Linked DNA regions of Homo sapiens: regions 1, 2 and 4 are each linked to region 3. Evidence: promoter capture Hi-C in 16 types of primary human blood cells and fetal thymus (Javierre and others, 2016). All regions are on one chromosome and are shown on one strand. The core of a region is centred on a gene start or on the middle of the fragment in contact, and the rest is flanking DNA. Distances in the headings are between cores, read along the strand shown. Region 1 has its middle 32 kb from the start of ZFP90. Region 2 overlaps ZFP90 (ZFP90 zinc finger protein). Region 3 holds the start of CHTF8 (chromosome transmission fidelity factor 8). Region 4 holds the start of WWP2 (WW domain containing E3 ubiquitin protein ligase 2).

Evidence for each region. Contacts are between HindIII fragments. The CHiCAGO score rates a contact against its expected background, and 5 or more counts as called.
Region 1: a contact is called between a fragment that was not itself captured here and the fragment with the promoter of CHTF8 in region 3, in 4 of 17 cell types (fetal thymus, naive CD4 T cells, naive B cells and 1 more). The highest score is 6.3, in fetal thymus.
Region 2: a contact is called between a fragment that was not itself captured here and the fragment with the promoter of CHTF8 in region 3, in 4 of 17 cell types (total B cells, naive CD4 T cells, total CD8 T cells and 1 more). The highest score is 7.8, in total B cells.
Region 4: a contact is called between the fragment with the promoter of WWP2 here and the fragment with the promoter of CHTF8 in region 3, in 17 of 17 cell types (total B cells, activated CD4 T cells, non-activated CD4 T cells and 14 more). The highest score is 32.7, in total B cells.

Annotation. Positions count from the first base shown.
Region 1 is chr16:68,505,896-68,508,595 of GRCh38, forward strand. No RefSeq gene overlaps it. Among named protein-coding and RNA genes, the nearest start is that of ZFP90, 32 kb to the right of the region's middle. RefSeq lists an enhancer at 2,130-2,630. The HindIII fragment of the contact is 8,227 bases long and covers 1-2,700 here.
Region 2 is chr16:68,548,609-68,551,335 of GRCh38, forward strand. All of the region lies in intron 2 of ZFP90 (ZFP90 zinc finger protein), which reads left to right. Among named protein-coding and RNA genes, the nearest start is that of ZFP90, 11 kb to the left of the region's middle. The HindIII fragment of the contact is 165 bases long and covers 1,189-1,353 here.
Region 3 is chr16:69,131,220-69,133,951 of GRCh38, forward strand. It overlaps CHTF8 (chromosome transmission fidelity factor 8), which reads right to left and starts at 1,369. Exons shown (of 4, transcript NM_001039690.5): 1 at 1,265-1,369. DERPC (DERPC proline and glycine rich nuclear protein) reads right to left here and starts at 1,369. Exons shown (of 3, transcript NM_001002847.4): 1 at 1,265-1,369. UTP4 (UTP4 small subunit processome component) reads left to right here and starts at 1,430. Exons shown (of 17, transcript NM_032830.3): 1 at 1,430-1,470; 2 at 2,239-2,399. The coding sequence starts at 2,241. RefSeq lists silencers at 949-1,098, 1,119-1,478. The HindIII fragment of the contact is 3,017 bases long and covers 1-2,458 here.
Region 4 is chr16:69,760,925-69,763,624 of GRCh38, forward strand. It overlaps WWP2 (WW domain containing E3 ubiquitin protein ligase 2), which reads left to right and starts at 1,408. Exons shown (of 24, transcript NM_001270454.2): 1 at 1,408-1,467. RefSeq lists an enhancer at 1,213-1,791 and silencers at 1,495-1,634, 1,655-1,814, 1,835-1,884. The HindIII fragment of the contact is 2,162 bases long and covers 810-2,700 here.

The sequences.
Region 1 (2,700 bases), core at 57-2,556, 630 kb before region 3:
CTGGAGTGCACTGGCATGATCTCGGCTCACTGCAACCTCTGCCTCCCAGGTCCAAGCAATTCTCCTGCCTCAGCCTCCCAAGCAGCTGGGATTATAGGTGCCTGCCACCAAGTCCAGCTAATTTGTGTATGTTTAGTAGAGATGGGGTTTTGCCATGTTGGTCAGGCTGGTCTCAAACTCCTGACCTTAAGTGATACACCGGCCTCAGCCTCTCAAAATGCTGGGATTATAGGTGTAAGCCACCACACCCAGCAAGGGAAGATGCTTTCTTGATAATTTGTAGAAGCCACCTGGAGAAGGAACTGCTGGCTCTTCCAGGCAGTCAGAGCGTGAACCAGGGTTTGGCACATCTTTGAACCCTTTGCTGTGTTGGGCATGGCTGGCCTGGAGATGAAGCCCATAGCCCAAGGCAGGCAGGTGGAAAGAATTCCAGAGCAGCAGCGACAGTGCCCCGCCTGAACCTCAGCTGGGGCTTCAAGACTGTTTGGTTCCATGGGACAGCCCATTCTCTTTAGTTTGTGCTAGTTTGGGTCTACTGTTCTGAAAGCTACAACTGAGAAGATGCTAGCTGATCTCACTAAAGAGGAATTTCCTTTCAGGTCACAGAGTCAGGACTGAGGCAGCCTGGGCTTGGGAGAAGGAGGACCAGGCAGTTGGTTGGTGACACTCATTCAGGAACCAATAGCTTTGTGCCCCAGGGACTGTGGGAAGGAGGACCTCAATGCAGACAGGGGAGCCGCAGGTCTGGTGCAGGGAGGGATGATCATGCCCAGGGCCCTCACTCCCAGCCTCGGCTGGAGGCTCCCTTCATAGAATTCCACCTGCCTGGTAAATGCAGAATGCAGTCCACTTAAAGAAATCAGAGCAGCTGCCACGTCAAAGCCGAAAAGATGTGTGGAGGTGGGTGGAGAGGAGGCGGGTAATTATGCAGGAAAAATAGTTTTCTTGATATTCTTCTGGAAATATGCGTGGAACAGAGGGAGCAGCAGGAGAGATGCCAGGCAAGGAGAAAATGTATGAATAGCAGAATGCATGGTGCCTCTCCAAAGGCAGACAGAGGCAGCGCTGCTTTGACCACAGCATCCTTTTGTGGGGAGCATCTGGGACTCCATGAGACACTTCCGCAGGGACTCTTCAATGTAGGACTTTATTCATGGGTCCATTACAGAATTTGCTGGGAATGATTGAGCCTTTCTTCCCCCTGTAATCCCAGCACTTTGGGAGGCTGAGGTGGGAGGATTGCTTGAGGCCAGGAGTTCAAGACCAGCCTAGGCAACAAAGTAAGATCTCGTCTCTACGAAAAAAAAAATTTTTTTTTAATTAGTCCGAAAAAAAAATGGGAGAGGCGTGAGGGATAAAAGACTACACATTGGGTACAGTGTAGACTGCTTGGGTGATGGGTGCATCAAAATCTCAGAAATCACCGCTAAAGAACATATCCTTGTAACCAAACACTACCTGTTCCCCCAAAACCTATTGAAATTTTAAAAAATAATAACCAAGTGCGGTGGCATGCGTCTGTGGTCCCAGCTACTCGGGAGGCTGAGGTGGGAGGACTGCTTGAGCCCAGGAGTTCGAGGCTACCGTGAGCAATGATTGTACCACTGCACTCCAGCCTGTACCACAGAGCAGGACTCTTGAGAGAGAGAGAGAGAGCACGCTGGCATGGGATCTCCCCATGCCACTTCTATGCCCCGTTAGGAATCTGCCCACAGAACCCATGTACTCTGCATGCCCAAGTGGCAGAGAGGCACCCCAAACTCTGAGAAGCAGCTCTGAGGTTGTGAACATTGAATGTAGATAATTATCCAGCTGTGAAGAAGCTGAACATTTCTTCGGGCTGTTTCTGCGTAATTATAAATATTTGAGAATATTAAACTCCCAGGTTACACATTGAGGGTATTGTCTGAGTAGCAGTTGGCTGCAGAGCTGGAAATGCAAACATATTTTCATTCCTCCCTCCTGGTGTACTCAGGATATTTCATGGGATTCAAAAGAAAAAGTTACAGTCGAGAAAAAAAAGCACCGACAACCTGGAGGCAAAGTCAGTTGCTAATATTTCTAAATAGCTTTAAATCAAAGAAGAGGAATGTGACCACTTTAGTTAACTGTGCTGGGTTTGTGATGCGTTTTTCTCTATGGTTTAGGAAAGCAATTACCATGAAACAACCTACCTGTGCCTTCGTGTGATAAAATGTTCCCTCTAATAGGGCCAATATGCCCAGCAGTAGGTCTTTACAAGCACTCAATGTTTCTAGAAGCATTTTCACATGTGGGGCTCCTTGGTGTGCAGTGAGAGCCCATGACTCACTCCTTAAGGACCCGTCATAGTGCAGGGTTGTTGGTTTTGTTTTTTGTTTTTTGTTTTTGAGATGGAGTTTCGCTCTTGTCGACCAGGCTAGAGTGCAATGGCACGATCTTGGCTCACTGCAACCTCCACCTCCCAGGTTCCAGGTTCAAGTGATTCTCCAGCCTCAGCCTCCCGTGTAGCTGGGATTACAGGCGCCCAGAATGCCCGGCTAATTTTTGCATTTTTAGTAGAGATGGGGTTTTGCCGTGTTAGCCAGGCTGGTCTCCAACTCCTGACCTCAGGTGATCCGCCCACCTCGGCCTCCCAAAGTGCTGGGATTACAGGCATGATCCACTGTGCCACAGGGTTCTTAATAGGAGATGGGTTCTTCCAAGGAGAGGCTGGTGTCC
Region 2 (2,727 bases), core at 21-2,520, 580 kb before region 3:
GCCTCCTGAGTAGCTGGGATTACAGGCATGCACCTCCACACCCGGCTAATTTTGTATTTTTAGTAGAGATGGGGTTTCTCCATGTTGGTCAGGCTGGTCTCGAACTCCCGACCTCAGGTGATTCGCCCGCCTCGGCCTCCCAAAGTGCTGGGATTACAGGCATGAGCCACTGTGCCCAGCCTTATCCTCCTATCTTTAAGTTCATCTTTTAAAAATTTCTTCTTACTCGATTTATCAGAGGTTTTTCTATTTGGCTGGTGCTTAAGAGGAACCAGCCTTAGATTTGGCTGTTAATGCCATCGTTTTTCTGTTTGCCTCTGTTTTTTATAATCCAAGAATTTAATTCACTAACCCATGTGTTTTTTTTTAATCCTCGAAACAACTCCTCATTTTCCTGCATTGAGAATTACCCAGATTCTGTATCCATTCACTCAGCAGACGTGTTTGGAATGCTTGCTCTATGCCAGGCAGTGGTTCTTAACCAGGGTCATGCTTCAGAACCAGTCAGGAAGTGGTGCCTGCTTCCTCTGGGGTGGTGACAAGGCTTCAGTGAGGAAATGTGGTGAGAGTGCACGTAAATGACTGAGTTTAGTGTTTGCCTAGCAGCGAGTGTTCAAGAAATCTGAGCTGTTGCTCTTTGATAATGAACCACCTGAGGAGCTTTTAAAAGATGCTGGGCAAGACCCTCCATGCATGGACAATTTAGAAAAGCTGCCCAGGTGATTCTGGACACTCTCCACTTGCAGTGTCAGAGATACTGAAATGAAAAGGAGTTTAAGAAATTTTTGGCTGGGCGCGGTGGCTCATGCCTGTAATCCCAGCACTATGGGAGGCTGAGGCAGGTGGATCACGAGGTCAGGAGATCAAGACCATCCTGGCTAACATGGTGAAACCCCGTCTCTACTAAAAATACAAAAAAAATTAGCTGGGCGTGGTGGCGGGTGCCTGTACTCCTAGCTACTCGGGAGGCTGAGGCAGGAGAATGGCGTGAACCTGGGAAGCGGAGCTTGCAGTGAGCCGAGATCGTGCCACTGCACTCCAGCCTGGGCGACTGAGCAAGACTCCATCTCAAAAAAAAAAAAAAAAAAAAGTCTTGAGGGAGAAAAATGTAACTAGATGGCTACGGTTCTGAAATGGAGATGGGGACCAAATGCTGAAGGGGGATGGGGAGCACGGAGGATGTGGGGAAGCTTCAGGAGGGAATGGAACAGTGAACTGGTTCTACAAGGATGACTAGGAATTTTTCCTGTGGAACTGAGGGAAGAAAGTACATTATGGTCAGAATAGGATGTATAAAGGCAAAGAAACACAAAAGAAAATGTTGTTACTGGGCCAAAGAGTCCATGTGGCAGAAGCTTTGGGTATATGACAGGAGGCAGCATTTGAGAGAAAGATGGCCTGAGGTGGAGACCTAGAACAATGTAGAACGGTGGTGTGCCAAAGAAATACACATTCCATGTGTAATTTTAAGTTTTCTAGTGGCTACAATATAAAAAGAAACAGGTGAAATTAATTTTAGTAATAAATATTATTTAAAACAATATATCCAGAATATTATCATCTCTACATGTGATAAATGTTTTAAAATTACTAATGAGGCATTTTACATTCTTTCCTTGATAGTAAATCTTTGAAATTCGGTGTGTATTTTATTTTATTTTATTTATTTGAAACAGAGTCTCACTCTGTCGCCCAGGCTGGAGTGTAGTGGCGCAATCTTGGCTCACTGTAACCTCCGCCTCCTGGGTTCAAGCCATTCTCCTGCCTCAGCCTCCTGGGATTACAGGCATGTGCCACCACACCTAGGTAATTTTTGTATTTTTGTAGAGACTAGGTTTCTCCATGTTGGCCAGGCTGGTCTCAAACTCCTGACCTCAGGTGATCCACTCACCTCAGCCTCCCAAAGTGCTGGGATTATAGGTGTGAGCCACTGCGCCTGGCCCAGTGTGTATTTTGCTTAATCACACATGCCCATTTGGACTAGCTACATTGCAAGTGTGACTTTTAAGTTTGTCTGCTCTTTTTCTTTTCCTCCTAGCATTTAAAACCAGTTTGTAATTGGGTGAACATCTAAATCCTTAATTTAAAAACATAATGAATAGCCACATGTGGCCAGTGGCTGCCATATTAGACTGTGTGGCTGTAGATTGCCATTCCCTGGATTAATGCTGTCATTAGCAAGGGAGGATTTCAGCTGGATTTGAAGGATGAAGGCAAGGGACTGAATTCAGGAGACATTTCTGAGGCTTTTGGTGACTGCAAGGCATAAAGGAAAAATGAAGAGTCAAGGAGGAGGTCCAGGTTTCCAGTCTTCAATACTGCAGATGGTGATGCAGTAGGAATCTGTGTGTGTGCAAAGGTTGACAGTGATGTTCTTCTCTCTGTACACCATTGTTAGTTACACGGTCAACTATCGGCTTGTTAAACTATGATCAATCTGGTATCAGAGGCCACTTAGTGCTTAAGTGGAGATACCACACTGTATTGCCGTAAATGTGATGTTTTCTGATTGGGCAAACTGTATTTGTACATGTCCTTTCTGGAAGTGCCCTTTCACCCCATCTGCTCATAAAACTCTTTATTTCTGTAGTTCAGGGAACTCATGTTATTGATGAGGTAATTGGATCTCCAGGAGGTGTGAGATCTACTCAAGGATATTATGCATTTATTCATTATGGAGCTTTTTAGGAGCCCATGAAATTGAGTCTTCTCAACTTAGTATATGCT
Region 3 (2,732 bases), core at 119-2,618:
ACGTGTGTGGATGCTATGCATACACGTGATACTTCCCATCACATTTTAGGATTCCCACGTTGGAGGGAATCAATTACTGGTATTTGTAGCAATGGGTGGAAAAGATGGCTTCAGTCGATCTGAGTTACTGCAGTTTTCTCCATCTTCTGCTACTCTGCAGCCCCATCTTAGCCTGTCCTCCTCTTAATGGTACGGCCCCCTGTACTCCCCCAAACCCTTTCCTTTCTAGCCCGGCGTAGAGTCTCCCTCTGTGCTCTTCCTCCCACCCACCCCCATCTTCTCCACCCACTCCCTCTCGGCCCCCTCCCACCCTTTCTGCTAGAGCTACAAACACTTCCTATTTCTAGTCCCACCCACTTTCTGGGACTTCTCAATCCGCTTCCCCCCTCTTCTCCACCCCCCTCCAAATTACAAGCTGTTTTAACCCCTTTTCCTGCCTCCCAGGGAAACTATTCTTTAAACCGCCTTCCTCCACACCACCCACTGGAGTGGTCTTCCAAACCGTTCACCCTCTTCCCAAAGATTACTCTTTAAACGTCCTTTCTCTACCACCCTCGTTCTCCAAATTGTTCCCGGTTCTCAAGTACTCCACTCCTCCAGGACCCCACCCCACTCGTCTCTCGGCTTCCCTCCCACAAAAGAACCTGGAATGACTCTCCAACCACCCTTCCAATTACCTCTCCCAGAAGCCTCCCCCCTCCACGATTACAAATGTTACCTGGAACAAAACCTCACGGTCCTAACCCCCACCCCGAACTCCCCTTTCTGCTCTTCCCGCTACTTCCTAGGTTCCAGTTCTACTCCGCTCCCGCAAGCATAGCGGGCTGGGCTCCCTCCCAACCCCGGGAAGAGCCCCTTCCCGCACGTACCTCGAGATTCCGGCCCTCGCCGCCCCCTTCTCCGTCCTCCGCCCGCGCTCGGCCACCCTTTCCGCCCTTCTCCCGCTCCGCCCCGCTCGCTCCCTTCCTTCCCTCCGCCTTCCGTCTCCACACCGCTCCCTTCCCCCACACTCCTGGCCCTCCCACCCCGGAGGCCCCTCCGGGCTTGCCCCCACCTCCGCGCCGCCCTCCCGCCGCCCTCCCCCTTCCCGGCCACCCCTCCCCCGCCCGCGCTCCCCGCCCCTCGGCTCGCCATTCTTCTCTCCGAGCCGCGCGCCCCGCCCGGCCCCGGCTCCCTAGCTTCCCGCTCCCTCGCGCCCTCGCCCCCAATCCCGGCTCGGCCCTCGCTCCCCGCAGCCTCCCGTGCCCCCCGCCCGCGGCCTGACCTGCAATGGCGGCCGCCGAGCGCGGCGCCGCGCGGCCAACGGGCGACAACCGAACCTCCCGCCGCCGTCGCCGCCGCCGCGAGCACTGCCTGCGCACTTCCGACTATGCGCCAGGAGCACTTCCGGGGCAGAGCCTGAGAGCGCGCGCGCACGTGGGGCCGGGGCGGAGAGAGGCGAGCACCGGGAAGGGGAGCGTGGGGCCGCTGGTGAGTTGGGGAAGGGGCGTGGGAAGCGGCTGCGAGAGCTGGGGGGGTCTTACAAGGTGGCCGGCCCAGGGTCGGCGTCCGGCTGAGCTCCTTGTCCCGAGGGTCTCCTTGTCCCGAGGCGGGGTGGGGGCTACTCTGTAGACTCGGGGAGAGGGAAGGGGAGGCGAAGACCGCGCGCGCCTCAGACGCCCCGGCCCGACCGAACGCGCTTGCTCTGTCTGCGGGTTCCTAACCTTGAAGCTAGGCCAGTGAGGGGCGAACAAGACCTGGTCTCTACTCTCGGCCAGTATATATGTTGGCGGGCGTCGGGGGGACGGGGTAGGGTAAGTGACAGACGTCAGACCAGGCAGCCAGATTAAGTCAAACCCTGTCGTTTCTTCCTCAAGAGGAGCTCGGTTCTGCCTGCCCCATCAGCCTCACTGTCACTACCTCAGTTTAGGTCTGTTGTTTGCAAACTTAGCAATAGAGTTGAGGAGAGATGCTTGCTAAAATGCGGATTCCTAGGCGCCCCGAGATAGGAACTCTGGAGCTATGGAGTAGGACCCTTTTTGATTTTTTGCTGAAGCCTCCTTATTATTCAAGCCATTCTGAGCTTTTGAAGATTGAGTAATTCTTGTGGGGGGCATTGTTAGCAGCCATTTGGAAATGAACTTCAGGGAGATGTTGTTGGAGCCTTCCAGCCAGAACAGTGATATTAAGGAACTGAATACTATATGTGACATACTGCAGTTAACATATAGCAATAATGACTCTCTTTTCGCCCCCTAGGAATGGGTGAATTTAAGGTCCATCGAGTACGTTTCTTTAATTATGTTCCATCAGGAATCCGCTGTGTGGCTTACAATAACCAGTCAAACAGATTGGCTGTTTCACGAACAGATGGCACTGTGGAAATTTATAACTTGTCAGCAAACTACTTTCAGGAGAAAGTAAGTCATTTGGGAGTCTGATATGGTGTTTTGATGTTAATTTCTTCTGAAGTTCAAGAAGCTTGTATGTCTTTTATAATCAAACTGATTGAGTGACTTCCTAGCCCCTCTGAAGTTGCTTAGAACTACCAAACTTCTGAGATCTCCTAACTGATAAGAGAAGCTCAGTTTCAATCTGTGTAATGTTGATTAGAAGGGTCCTACCTAGAAATGTGACATCTCACTGCCTGTCATTGGAAACTGAGGTTTGCTGGATCTTTTGGACACAGGAAGGGAAATTGTTGGTATATCAGTCTCAACACCATTGCAGCTTTGGTAAGCAAAATTTCCTGC
Region 4 (2,700 bases), core at 158-2,657, 630 kb after region 3:
AACATGGTGAAACCCCATCTCTATTAAAAATACAAAAATTAGCCAGGCATGGTGGTGGGTGCCTGTAGTCCCAGCTACTCAGGAGGCTGAGGAAGGAGAATTGCTTGAACCTGGGAGGCAGAGGTTGCAGTGAGCCAAGATTGAGCCACTGCACTCCTGCCTGGGCTACAAGAGTGAAACTCTGTCTCAAGCAAGCAAATAAATAAATAAATAAATAAATAAATAAAGTTATTGGGCAGGCACAGTGGCATTCGCCTGTAGTCTCAGCTACTTGGGAGGCTGAAGCAAGAGGACTGCTTGAAGCTGGGAGTTCGAGCCCAGCCAAAGCAACCTATCCAGACCCATCTCTTAAAAAAAATATTTCTCTGCCAGGTGCGGTGGTTCATGCCTGTAATCCCAGCACTTTGGGAGGCCAAGGTGGGCGGATCATTTGAAGTCAGGTGTTCGAGACCAGACTGGTCAACATGGAGGAACCCTGTCTCTACTAAAAATGCAAAAATTAGCCAGGCGTGGTGGTGCACGCCTGTAATCCCAGCTACTCGGGAGGCTGAGGCAGGAGAATTGCATGAACCGGCGAGACGGAGGTTGCAGTCAGCTGAGACTGCACCACTGCACTCCAGCCTGGGCGACAGAGCGAGGCTCCATCTCAAAAAAAAAAAAAAAAATATCATCTATCTATCCACCTACCTACCTACCTACCTACCTGGATTATAATTCATTAAGTTCTCTGTGCCCTGTAGTTGTAGATTAAGGGAATGCGATTGGATTAGTGTGGAGGGGCTTTTTATGGAGCCAAGCAGGAGTTTTTAAGCTTTTGTACTTTTGCTTCATGTCACAAGGACAGATGCCCCACAAAGGCTGAGATGTTTGTGGTCCTGGATCTTAGAACAGTGCCTGGCACATAATAGGCATAAGGTTGCCAGGAAATAGAAATACAGATACTCAATTCAATTTGATCTTCAGATAATCAAAAAATACTTTTTTTAGTATAAATATGTCCCATTCTGTATTTGGGACATACATATTACACTGTTGTTTATCTGAAATTCAAATTTAAGTGGGTGTCCTGTACTTTATCTGGCAACCCTACTAAAGGAGCTCAATTAAGTATTTGCTGACTTAACAGTCTGAAGGTCTCGTTTCACCTGTAAAATGGGGCTAGTACCTGTCCCTGCCTCTATAAGGTTGATGGGCAGAGTAGGTGGCATTCAGTGAGCCCTCAATTTATTTGATTGCCTGGGACCATCCGGTGAGCAGAAACCCTTCCACTTTCAACTACAGAGACGATAAAAAGGCCTCCTCGAGGCCAGAGGTGCCCAGGCCAGGCCTAGGTGGCCCGCACCTGCGAGCCTGGCCAGCCTCTTCCGGGTCAGGTGACCGCGCGCGGTCACGTGACCCGGCCCGAGTGCGGGCGGTGGAAGGCGGAAGTAGGAGAGGAGTTCGGCGCCGCTTCTGTGGCCACGGCAGGTAGCGAGCGCTGGCGCGGGGGGCGCGGTGGGCTGGCTGCCTGCACGGGGCGGGCCGGGGGCGGCGGGCGGCGCGGGGTGGGCCGGGGGCGGCGCGGCCCGGGCGTCGGGGGGCGGCGGCTTCCTGTGGGAGGGGCCTGGCGCGGCGGTTCCGGCCTCCGAGGAGGGGTGTCCCGGCTCCCGCCCGAGTGGGGTGGGCGCGCCGCGGCCCGCGCGGGGGTTGCTCCGAAATGGGTGCCCCGGCCGCCAAGGGTGCAGCTGGAGCGAGTCCTCCCGGAAGGGGAGAGGAGCTTAGGTTCCCAGGCATGGAGAGGAGCGATCTTTGTGGAGGGATCGGGACCAGGGGAAGGGGCGACTTGGAACTGAGCTGGAAGGGGGTGCCTGAAAATGGGTTTATGGCGTGGAGCCAGAGGGAAAAAGATGCTGCCTGGACCCCCTCTGAGAGTCTCTCCCTTCCTTCCTGTTTGGAAATGATTGTTACCCGAGACTTTGATGACGGTCCCATTCAGTTTTTAAACTTCAGGAGGGATCACAGAATCTTGATCGTCTTGCTTCCCTCGCGCCCACTTAGTCCTGCGTGGGTAGGGTTTCCACTTCTTGGGAGCCTAGCCCTTCAGCTCATTTTTCTTTGAGATTTTCCCTGAACGGGCCATCATCGAGGCTTTAAAAAACAAAAAAAGAAAATAAATTAAAAAAATAAGTGTGGGCACTTTGCCTGTAAAATGGCTTTTAGCTTACACTGTTGACCTAGCCCAGCGTTACCTCAGCAACATAGTGACTGCTGAAATCTTGGACAGAGAAGTGTCTACCTAGACTGCTTTATGACTTTTCTCTTTCTTCCGTTTAAATTATTCAGTTTCCCTTAGCTTATCTTGTGACTGCTTATCTTGACGAACTGTAACTAGGTAGGGTGCCTGAGAGGTCTGTGTTATGTTCCTTAGAACTGTGACCTGGATCATGATTTTGAGATTGAATACTTGTGTTAAAGCCTGTTCATCTTCCTGTTTCTCATGTTTACTAAAATTTGCAGAAGCAAAAGGAGTTTCATGAGTGCAGTGTAACTGGAACGAATGTTCAAACTGGACATTCACAGCAGCCAGCATCGTTTTGGGTTACAAGTAGGAAAAAGTACTTTCCTAATGTATTATGAGTTCAAGTTTTTGGAGTTATTTGACAAACATTTAAAAATTAGTTTTTGCAGCAGCGCCTATGAGTGAGGTTGGGAAGATGTATT